2 separate regions of the Homo sapiens genome follow, and region 2 is linked to region 1. Evidence: promoter capture Hi-C in 16 types of primary human blood cells and fetal thymus (Javierre and others, 2016). All regions are on one chromosome and are shown on one strand. Each heading gives the region's core, a stretch centred on a gene start or on the middle of the fragment in contact. The rest is flanking DNA. Distances are from core to core; before and after follow the strand shown.

The links. Contacts are between HindIII fragments. The CHiCAGO score rates a contact against its expected background, and 5 or more counts as called.
Region 2: a fragment that was not itself captured here is called in contact with the fragment with the promoter of EPHA3 in region 1 in 1 of 17 cell types (naive B cells); the score reaches 6.0 in naive B cells.

The regions. Positions count from the first base shown.
Region 1 is chr3:89,105,574-89,111,474 of GRCh38, reverse strand. EPHA3 (EPH receptor A3) reads right to left here and starts at 3,854. Exons shown (of 17, transcript NM_005233.6): 1 at 3,639-3,854. The coding sequence starts at 3,726. RefSeq lists an enhancer at 3,873-4,012. The HindIII fragment of the contact is 3,372 bases long and covers 3,007-5,901 here.
Region 2 is chr3:88,262,996-88,268,714 of GRCh38, reverse strand. No RefSeq gene overlaps it. Among named protein-coding and RNA genes, the nearest start is that of CSNK2A2IP, 73 kb to the left of the region's middle. The HindIII fragment of the contact is 2,033 bases long and covers 2,575-4,607 here.

The DNA.
Region 1 (5,901 bases), core at 2,605-5,104:
TACAAAAATGTATAATGCATTCAATTATTTAGTCTAGCATGATGAAATGCTATGAAAAGCAAATGTAAACCCTCTTCCAAACCAAAAAAACTTATAAAGATGATATGATAGCTTAGTTCTCTATTAATGTTTTAATCACAGTGTGTTCTTATTTGAGGAAAAGTGTTTATATATGAAAAGTGATGCCAATTTATTGTAATTTTTAAAAATGAAAAAATTGATTATTTATTTTCTCCAACATTTGCCTACTACTCAAAGGGAAGCTTATAATATTCATATGCAAGTTTTACTTTTAAGTTTTAAACAATTGCATAGTTTCCTCTAGTATTTAGAATATTTATATTTAGGGAAATGCATTTCATAGAAATAGTGTCTTAGCTACTAAAAAAAGTCTTTAAAAAAGTAGTATATAAATATGAATATTTAATTTTATTCAGTTTTATTTTGGATACTCTATTTTCAATATAAAGAGCTTTCTAGGTAAATGTTAATCCAATTTATGAACTCTTTTGGATAGAAAAAATGATTTAGTGTATTATGTGCTGATGAATTAATAGTGCATTGTACCCCAGACTGCCATAAATGTATAAAAGTGTTTAAAGAAAGTATTTTTACCAATTCTGAAAGGGTTGAAGTAACCACAGTTGATAATTTTATTTTATATCCAGTTTTAACTTTGTTCCAATGTTATTTCTGTTTACCATTAATCATCCCTGTGGTATGGAAACTAGGAGTAAGTATATGAACTTTTAAAATAATACGTAGTGTAGCAATCATATTTTGCCATGAAAAACAGCTGATCTCCCATTAAAAGTCTTTTCTTAAGCCATGTAAACAGAGAGACCTGATAAGAATTTAATAAAGTTTTTATAAAGTTCTGTTTAAGTATATAGGCCAATTGCTGAGTCAAGTGATCATTGGAATTATGAATATCTGTTATCGTTGATGAGTCCCTATTATCACCTGGAGTCATTTTCTTGAAAGCATATAAGAGAGATATTTGTAAATACATTAATAGAAGGAAAATTCAGATTAAACATTTTCTAAGTTATTTTTCTTATCAGGGACCCATGGCATTTCAATATTGATGTTTAATGATTAAATCTTAAATTAAAAAACACATCACACAACTGCAAATGTCCTAGCAATTAAGTCAATGGCCTGGTTTTGTTCTCTTTGGTTCTCAAATGCCTAACTTCATAACAGATTGAAGAATATATTCTAGTAAATATGTTTCAGTAAATTTCTCATAAATTTTTTACAGTGTTGAAATATTTCAATCATAATATTTTAAATACAGTCTAGTATTTCATATTTCAAAATTAAAAAATTATATCAGAAAACTACATTAATACCATTTTTAAATCACCACTCCTCTCATATATACATTTTCAAAAGAATTGCTTTCTATTTAAATTACATTGTTAGAAAAATTGCACGGAAATCTTGGCACATACTTGGCATTTTCACTTTTCATGTTATTCAACTCAACTGAGAGCCCAGCTATGGATAATATTTAAAATCTCACTCAAGTATTACCTAAGTTAAATCATCTTAAATTTGTTTTAAAGCTTCCCTTCACAATCACAGGAAGGAAAAGAGACACTACCCATAGGACACAATCTGGAAGGAATAATCCCATGAATGATGGATAAACTTTCATCCAAGCAAATTAAATGCAATTATGTCAGCTTTCTGAATATATTTACCTTTCTATATCCATATGGTTAATGTGTACCTGTCTGTATAATTATATACATTATATCCCCAAACATACATGAGGTGAGGCTTAAAAGCAATTTGTATTTGATTAACTCTGTTTCATTAAATTAATACTGATTAATTTTACATAGGTGTGAAATAGTTTGGTGTCTTTTTTTTTCTCTTGCAGTTTACTTAAAGGTTGTTTTCCACAAAAATACTGACTAACAGCTACATTCTTGTGCATAATTAATTCAGTAATATCCATATCTACATAGTTCATAACCATTCTATCTGGAAAATATAATTTATCATGACAATGTGGGAATTTTAATACTATTTTTCTAGTTATTGTCAATATTTTAATATCTGCAAAGAACAAAAATTTTTAAAACATTAAGTTTAATTTATTGATATGTTACCTATTATACATGTTACCCGTTATACAAATGAATACTCTTACCTTTCATTCAGGAAGAATGATTGACTCTTACTTTCAAATAAACATTTTAATTTGGTTTGTAAAATAAAAAGTCATTTGTGGGTAAGATAATTTTCTTGATCCTTATATTTTAGAATTTTCATTTTCTTATTTAGAAAAAAGATTCAGAACATTTAATGAAAACTGCCAAATTGATAAAGGCAGTCAGTAAGGAAGGAGATAAATTACTGCTCTATTAGCAGTGAAAGTAGGTCACCGAGTATCAGGCAGTTATTACATTTAATAAAAAACTTTCTAAGTATTTTGTTTTTACTCGTGTTTTTAAAATTAAGGTACATATACAACAGTATTGGCTTGACAATATATTTTCTAAGGAGTGATGTATATAACATGATGTTTGCACATCAGTTGCTCGGTATTGTTAACTTGCAAAATAAATTGCTAAATGTTACTGTTATAAGTTCAAAATCACTAAGAGGAAATTAATGTTGTAAGTGTGGCTTTACACTAATCAATTATTTAGAGAAGTTTGTTTTACGAGTTAGTGACTGTATTCACAAGAATAGATCACAAAAGGAATACAGGAGAAAGAAAATGTATGTATTAAGTACACAATCTTATAGAACACATTGGTGTCCTTAACATTAGGTTTGCACTTTAACCCACTGAAAAGGAATTAATGCTCATTACAAGGATAATAAATAACACAACATCAAGGAAATGCCATTTGCTGCATATGAACATTCTCTCTTAATCTACTATTCAGTTATTTACTATATCTTCCCAGGAGCTATCCACTATTCATTAAATACATTCTCCTATTTGTATATAAGCCTTTAAACAAAGAGAATCCAACCTAAGCTTATTGTAATTCTTGCAAATATTACTTACGTTAATGTGGCATATGCTGCTCTTTAGAACCTGTACCATAGAGCAAACCATTGCCTGGCGGGATACACACAACTTCAACACAGCCCTTGCACCATAAACACGCACCTCCGCTTCGACAAACTCTGATTTCCCTTTAGTCCATTCATAAATGCCATGATCCCAAGTAGGAACAACCTGTCATTACCTTTAAACATACTAAAGAGTCTAGAGAGGAAGGCTGAATTTTCTTTCAAACTTCTCGGAGTACCACATGGTCATAATTAGAAAATAAAATACTGCCTTGGCTATTTGGCAATTAACATAACTGGGTTGCAACGCTGGAGGATTTTCTTTCTTTCTTTCTGCTCAAATTGGCAAACAAGGTAATTGCTCGAAATGGTGTCAGATTAAAAACACATTTTCAAAGTTTAGACCATCTAAAATTATCTCCTGAAGTGTTTTAGAAGACAGTTGGAAAAAAAAAAGGCACATCTTTCCTTCACTCTCAGAGCAAACTGCTCTATTCGGAGGCACCTTCCCGACGTGCAAGGCTTCGGTGAGAACGTGCTTTGAAGAGCGTGAGCCCCGCGGGGCAGAGCTCCGTGCGTCGCGGTACCTGGCTTACCTTCATTGGAAGGCTGCGGAATCAGTTCCCCGAAGCTGTCGAGAACAGAGCAGCTGAGAAGGAGGAGGATGGAGAGCTGACAATCCATGTTGCTGGTGCAGAGGGCAGTGAGAGGAGCATATCTCCATGAAGCATGCCACTGATGTGAGGGGGAGCGCTCTGATTGCTGGAGAAGTTACCATGCTCCGCTCGCAGGCTGATGTCAAGTTTGACACTGGAGATAAGGAGGAGTCTGGCTGCCTTTCCGCGAACCCCGCTCGGGGACTTCCCTGGGTCCTAGTGCCGTCTTCAGCGTGCGCTGAAGCAGAGCGGGATGGCACGCAGCTGGCTCTGCAGCCCAGAGCTGCTCGGGAAGGAGACCGGGTGGGAGTGGGGGCGTCGCCCATGGGACAGGAAACACAGAAGATGTGATGAGGCCGCGGTGCTGAGAAAAATGCTCCCTCTTTTGTGTTGCATGAAAAGTAGCTGTTTTATTGTTTGCTATCCATGCTCTGTTGCTTAATTCACCGAAGAAATCACAGCCTTGATAGGAGTATCATATGGCAATGTGAGTGCAAAAGGAACTGAAATGCGAGAGAAACGTGTGTTTTGAAAGAATAGCAGTCTTTCGTTAAAAAGTCAATCATGTTTGTATAATTGAAAAAAATGATTATAGTTATTCCTTTACTGTGTTCAATGTGATCATAACTCTCCATGAGTTCTTTGTGATTCAGAAAGACACTAATACACAGCCTGAATCAGAGGGTCTCTGCATTTCCACACCCAATGGTATCGTGGCTTTTTACTAGATCTGGCACAGTGATTTTCCGCGCACATAGAGCATACTTTGTTTTTTTTCAAACAGGGAAGTTGACCTTCATCATCTTACGGAAGGGAGCAAGTCTAACCCCAGCCGGAGGTCTACATTCTTTTCTCGTTCTGTGTTGTAAAAGTAATACAGATCAAACCTAAATTTCTTAATAATACATATCCCCCTCCCTCACCATCTCACATTAGGATCTCTGGGTTCTGCAAGAGAAACAATGCATAATTCACAGCTCCTCCATTCAACTTTCAACCACTGATAGTCTAATAATATTGGGGTATTCTTATTCTTTAACATTCCAAATCCAAAAGCTAAATAATAATGTCCTCGTACTTTCTCACTTATTTTACACCATGACTATCAATGGTCTCTGTTATTTCCAATCCCATTGCTGAACAACCTATTGCAATCTAGTTCAGCCAAACAATTTTGTAATTTATATTTTAATAACCAGCATCACTTATCTTTAAAATATCTCCCAGAAAATGGTTACTCAGATATCCTTCCGCCCATCTATCTCTTCTTATACTAAAAAGAAAACAAGATTATTATATTCCTCTCACAACTTCAGAAAATAAAGGTATGTTGATAATCTTAAGATCAGTGATCAATTTTAGAGCTCTTGATAATGAAACTTAAATGAAAGTTTGAAAAGCCCTTGCTAATAATGTATTCAGTCCACAAACTCAATGTTTTTAGTTAGAGAACACAATTTTCACTTGAATTTAAGTTAATGGTGCCAGATAATAGTTTGATGACTGGGGTGGGGAATTGGGGTGGATAGAAGCAGCCAGGGGAAAAGAGAGATCCTTCTCACTTTTCTGTGTATGCCATGTTACTTTGTGTCTCTAACTTCTTTCCACATTGTGTCACCAGAGGCTGCGCAATCCTCAAGTGCCAAGTCTGTCAGAATTGAAAATAATAGCAGATACTGCCCAGAGAACTTAGACAGTGGTGACTCTGGTGTTTTTTCAAAGTTCCAGCACAACACTTACATTGTTCCAAAGTTAGATACACGTTTTCTGAAACTTGAAAGAAACTAAAATCTTATTTGGAATTGACAATTTGAAAACATTTTGGAGAATCTGCCAATGTGCTGACACGCAGATCCATTGGCGCCCCTCATGCTATTTCTCTTTTCACACTTGAAAACTTAAAAACTGCTTGTCACTGGGAAAAAAGGCATTCATGTTTGCAGAAAGCTACAGGAGTGGCAAAATGAGTACAAAGCAATACCTGGCCTGAAAATAGAATGTAAATGATATAGAATCTCTAAATTGTCAACTCTCTAGTGAAAAGTAAAAGGTTTCCATTATGTAGGCGCCATTCTGGACAGATGGGGAAAAGGGAGTGATGCCAATAAGCAGAGAAGAGCAACCATAGCAGGAGTGGAAAGGATGAGGTGGGGGCAGCAGATGCAGGGAAGCCCTTATTAAGAAAGTGGTAGTTGAGTTGCAG
Region 2 (5,719 bases), core at 2,342-4,841, 840 kb after region 1:
TTCAATGCCCACAGCCATTTGCAGGTGCAAGAGATGCAGCTCCGAGCACCTCTGAAGTAGGACTTCACAACCTTTCTGTAACGGAAAATGGGTGGACTGAGATCTCAGCAGGCAGCTGCCTCTGGTTTCCTTTCCTGGCTGCAATCTGGTGGATGGGTGCTAGCCAGACTTAGGGGTTACTGCAAAACGGGCTGAAAGGAGTGTTTGAGAAGCCAGGAGTGCCAGCCACACACATGGAATGCTTTACCTAGAGTGAACACACATCGTGTTCTTGCTGTACTGCATCTTTCTTTGCAATCCAACTTTTCTCTATATAAAAGGAGTGGGGAGAGGAGGCAGTATCTTTTTATTGTTGTTGTTGTTCCTTGGACAGTGGACTATTTTTGTTTTTATTTTTAAACATCAATCAGACATTTACCAAGATAGCATGTGGAATGGACTTGAAGCTTGTACAGCCTTCGGTCTATTTCCACAGACATGACCTCTGCATTATAGATAATGCCAAGCTACTTCTCCAGCCCATGAGAATGTTTCAGATATCTTCCACGTTTATGACTACTTTAGACAATCTAAATTTTACCCCTAGGCACTTGTGAAAAGGCACAGCTGTTACCCAGTAAGGTTAACAGAAGAGCCTATCTGTTCTTAGAGAGAGCAGGCCCCTGGCAGCTTGTCACAGTGTTTACCTGTAAGGCAGCTGTGTGTTGTGAAAAGAGGCCCTCACTCGGGCACGAGCAAAGCTATGTTCTGCCCTGATGCAGAACTTGCTTACTGATGATAAGCCTCAGTTTCCTCAGATGCATTTTCCTACCAACAAGAAAGAGAATTGCACTTTACTGACCTCTAAGATTTGGATCCATCTTAAAATTCAGGGATTCTGCATTCTGAACATACTATATCCCCTGAATCCTCAGCCAACAAGAGCAGGTTTTGGTTTTTTAAAAAGAATAAATATTGTATTTTAAGTGTCCATACAACGTATCCACATACGTAATTTCAAAAAATTGTAAATAATTTCAGCTGGATAAATTTAGAATGTTTTTATTAAAACCAGTTCAACAATACTCTCTGGCACTCTTCCCAGAACACTTCCATTTGATTGGGAATTGCTTAAATTTTAATCCGTTTTAAGTTCCTCTCTTTCTCAATTGTGCTCTTCTTAAAATGTCGCATTTGAAATATTCACTGCAATATCACTGACTCTTTTATTAAATCATGTATCTCAGCAGTGATACTGCTAGCCGTTGGATGTTTTGGGGGCCACATGTAGTGTGTGGTGTGGCGGGGAAAATGCATGGATGATTATGGTTGTATTTCTGTGGATTTCCCTTTTCTCTCAAGAGCACCTGCCGGAGGCCTACATCTCCCCCATATCAGCATTAATACTATTTACTACTCTGGTCTTACTACTCTTATCTTTCCCTTTCTCCTTTAAAACATTTAAGATAATACAAAACTATCTTCCTAAACATGTGTGCCAACATGGGCAAACTCAGAAAAATAAACAAAAAACAAATTGTACATATTCCCTAAGTCAAACAAGCTTCTTTTCTGTAAGTTCATCATCACACTGCTTTTCCTTTCCTGACTAGGGCTGCACTGCTTTCCCATTTTTTTTTTTTTTTCTTTTTTTTTGAGACGGAGTCTCGCTCTCTCGCCCAGACTGGAGTGCAGTGGCGCGACCTCGGCTCACTGCAAGCTCCGCCTCCCGGGTTCACGCCATTCTCCCGCCTCAACCTCCGGAGCAGCTGGGACTACGGGCGCCAGCCACCACGCCCGGCTAATTTTTTGTATTTTTTAGTAGAGACGGGGTTTAACCGTGTTAGCCAGGATGGTCTCTATCTCCTGACCTTCTGATCTGCCCGCCTCGGCCTCCCAAAGTGCTGGGATTACAGGCGTGAGCCACCGCGCCCGACAACTATTCCCAATTTTTTATGCGGGCTGGATCCCAAACTTCACTGGCCTTGCAAAGAGAAAATGGAAAAGGCGATAGCTAAGAGTAGGAGAGGGGCTTCTGGCAGGACCCTCAAGGAGGACCAAGCCTTGTCTCCCACCCAGAGCCCTCCTGAGCCTGACATCAAGTTTTCACCACTCAATACAATGACCAGCTACACATTTTCTTAACAACTTTCCCTCCACCCACTCCTTTATTGACTCAAATACTGCTAGAGACCCTGAGATTTACCCTTTTCTAATAAGACCTACCACACCTTAAGCAACAACTATGTACAAAGCATACAAGTTACCCACTTCATATAAACTCTATCACTTAATTCTTACACAGTCTTATAAGCTAGGTTAGGCATTATCTTGTTTGTTTTAAAACTAGGGGAACTGAGGCACCGGGAGGTTAAATAACTTGCTTAATATCCATGGGCGATAAGAAGTTCAGCCTAGATGTGCACCCACGTCTACTTCATTTTACTGTTTAAAACATATGAACATTTAAAACTAATAACAACCAGAAGGTAGTATTGGATGAGCACAAAAGTAAAGCCTATAGTAGGGTTTGATTACAACTACAGCATCTGTTCTTTTGTACAGGAAAGACTAAGCAATGACTTCCATGAAGCTTTCAGCCATAACCACCAGCCCAAACTTTATTGGCCTAAATATAGCTTTTTTCACACAAAAAGAAGTGGAGAGAAGTGCTGCCCAATAGAAATATAATGTGAGAAACAAGCACAGGCCATATATAGAAAACATTCTAGCAGACACATTTAAAAAAAGTAAAGGAAACAGATAAAATTAGTTTTAATAATACCTTTTATTTAACCTAATATATCCAAATATGATCATTTCAACATGCAATCGATATTAAAATTATTAAGGTAATTTTCTTCCTTTTTTTCATACTAAGGCTTTAAAATTCAGTGCACATTTTACACCTGCAGCCCATCCCCATTCAGACTAGCTGGACTTGAAGGGCTCATTAGCCAGCTGGAGCTAGTGACTACCATATTGGGGCACACAGGTACAGGGAATTGGCTGCTGGGGTTGGATTCCTAGTACTCTGGATCTTTTCCTCATATTTACTACCACAGGTTCACAAAATAGCTTCCAAAGTACCAAACATTATATCAGTATCAACAAAAAGAACAAGGAAGGTGTGCCACCAGTAAAATCTTTCCCAGAATACCTGTACTTGCATCTGTGAACTGTGTCCCATAGTGACTCTTGATCATAGGGGAAGCTAGGAAAGTGAGAATTAAGATTTTTTCTGATTCCTTTTTTTTTTTTTTTTAAGGGAGTTTCACTTTTGTTGCCCAAGCTGGAGTACAGTGGTGCAATCTCGGCTCGTTGCAACCCCTGCCTCCTGGGTTCAAGCGATTCTCCTGCCCCAGCCTCCCAAGTAGCTGGGATTTCAGGTGTCTTCCACCACGCCCAGCTAATTTTTTGTATTTTTAGTAGAGACAGGGTCTCACTACGTTGGCCAGGCTGGCCTCGAACTCCTGACCTCAGGTGATCCACCCATCTCAGCCTCCCAAAGTGCTGGGATTACAGGCGTGAACCACCATGCCTGGCCTGATTTTTCTGATTTCTAATGGATGCATAAGAAAGGGGTTGGAGATAGAAATGTATTTGCCAACCAAGATTGCCACGGACATTGGTTTTCAAACATATATATATATTTAAAACTAACAAAAATTTCCAGAATCATGAAAATGTGCTCTCCTTCATTTTACAATATTTACATAGCATTAAGTAAATAATAAATATATATTTCTTTCAGAATATACCTGTCTATCTCACTTAAGCCATTTTACCGCTAACATATTTGAAAGAAGAGATAGCAACGAAGCATGAGGAATGGAGCATGTGGGGGGTAAAATGGTTCTCAGGAGACGAGGATACCAATCTAACCTCCCCACAGATCTTTCCACGGTGAGCCCTCTTTGTGCGTATACAAGTGAACATATTGGACACCAAATATAACACTATTTACACAAATTCTTATTGAGCAAATCAGTGTTCATTTTAATACATCAAAAAGTAAATATATGCTTCTCTAACAGATTATAATTTTTCCTAGTCAATGCTTTCTAAAACTAAATTATAGCAACAAATAAATCTAAACTAACGCAATCTTATTATCAACAAAATTTCATGGTTGCCTTAATGGAAAGAAAAATGAACTTTGATTTCAGAAATAATAAGTCATATATATCTTTTACATCATAGTTGTGGGAATTTGGTTAGCAAAAAAATGGAAATAAATTATCCAATAATTTATACTGTAGGTAGTATGAATCTCTTCATAAGATTGTACGGGTACTAAATATTATGGTAAAATTGAGCATTTTATTCTAAAGTATTTCTATCTGTTTTCTCTTCTCTCAACAATCCTAAAAACATTTTCAGTTATCTTAAACCATGATATGACATGACACAGATAGTAGAAAACTAATCTATCAGGAAATTATTCAATATAATGTAAATTAAAACTAGCATTTATATTTATTGTTTTAAATACGTACACATACATGTATATGCAGGCATTCATGTAACTGATTCTGTAATTATTCATTCAGCCCGCTAGGTCATCTAATGGGATGGTATGGAGCTGAGTTGTCATGAACTAGAATATTGAGCATACTGAATAAGCTTACAATTATAAGCATAAAATTTTGCAGATAAAAATATAAATGAATTTAAACCATCGGAGAAATTAGGTCAATAACACAGTGTTTAACTGTAATCTCCTGAGATTTGCATTTTGAAATCCAGGGATTGTGCATGTGAAAGAATAATCCCATTATAACTTTACGACACTGTAGCAATTGAGATGAACGCTGTACCACATTACAGGAAGGACACACAGTGACCTCACTACAACTAAGCCCCAGTGTTGAGAGATTACAATTGCTGGTTAAAACATTAAAAACCAAATAAAAGAAGAGTCTGTGCAACCTAGTATTACCGCTAATACCATTAATATCACTTGAAATCCTCTTTTCTTTTCAAATGCTTGATGAGGTGTCAAATGGTTGCATACCCACTATATGCAAATGGGTGCCTGACTTCTATATTCTGTGACACAGGGTAATAATAGTGCATACTATAAATCAGTTGGTGACGTAAACTCAGCCTGTGAATTGCCAATGGATCATACTTTCCCATCATTATGGTGTTGTGTAAATGTGCACTCAGAGCTGTTAACACTACTCCAGGCTTTGACTCACACCACCGTGCCGGGTGCTGATGACCAGCTGCATGAACATTGCCATTGCCATGCATTCCTTGGAGACTTAAAACGACCCTTGTGTCACTTGAAAATGATATAAGATTGCTGTGTTCTATTTGTGAATACTGTAATATTAATGTTTATTTCAAAATTTAAGAGGTAAAATGAGAATAATATTTTATTCTAATTACTAAAAAAGAATGAGGAAATGAATGTTAAATTTAAATTACTATGACTTCACCTCTAACCCTTCTCCTTGATCTACACTCACACACAAAAGTCCTTTGTTGTTGCAGACTTTAATAAAAATCTTGGAGAGAGGAAGAAGTTATACTTGAAAGCAGCAAAAAAAAATTTAAATTCAATGTTAGAGCCTAAGAACACTTCACACACCCCATCAGGTGGCTCAGCCCTCCTTTTTACTGTCTACTCTGTCTACTCTTTCCTCTTCCCCTTCCTCCTTTTCCCTGTGCCCACCCTTTCAGAAGAAAAAACAAATTCTGTCTTTTTACAGAGTAATTCAGACATCGGCAA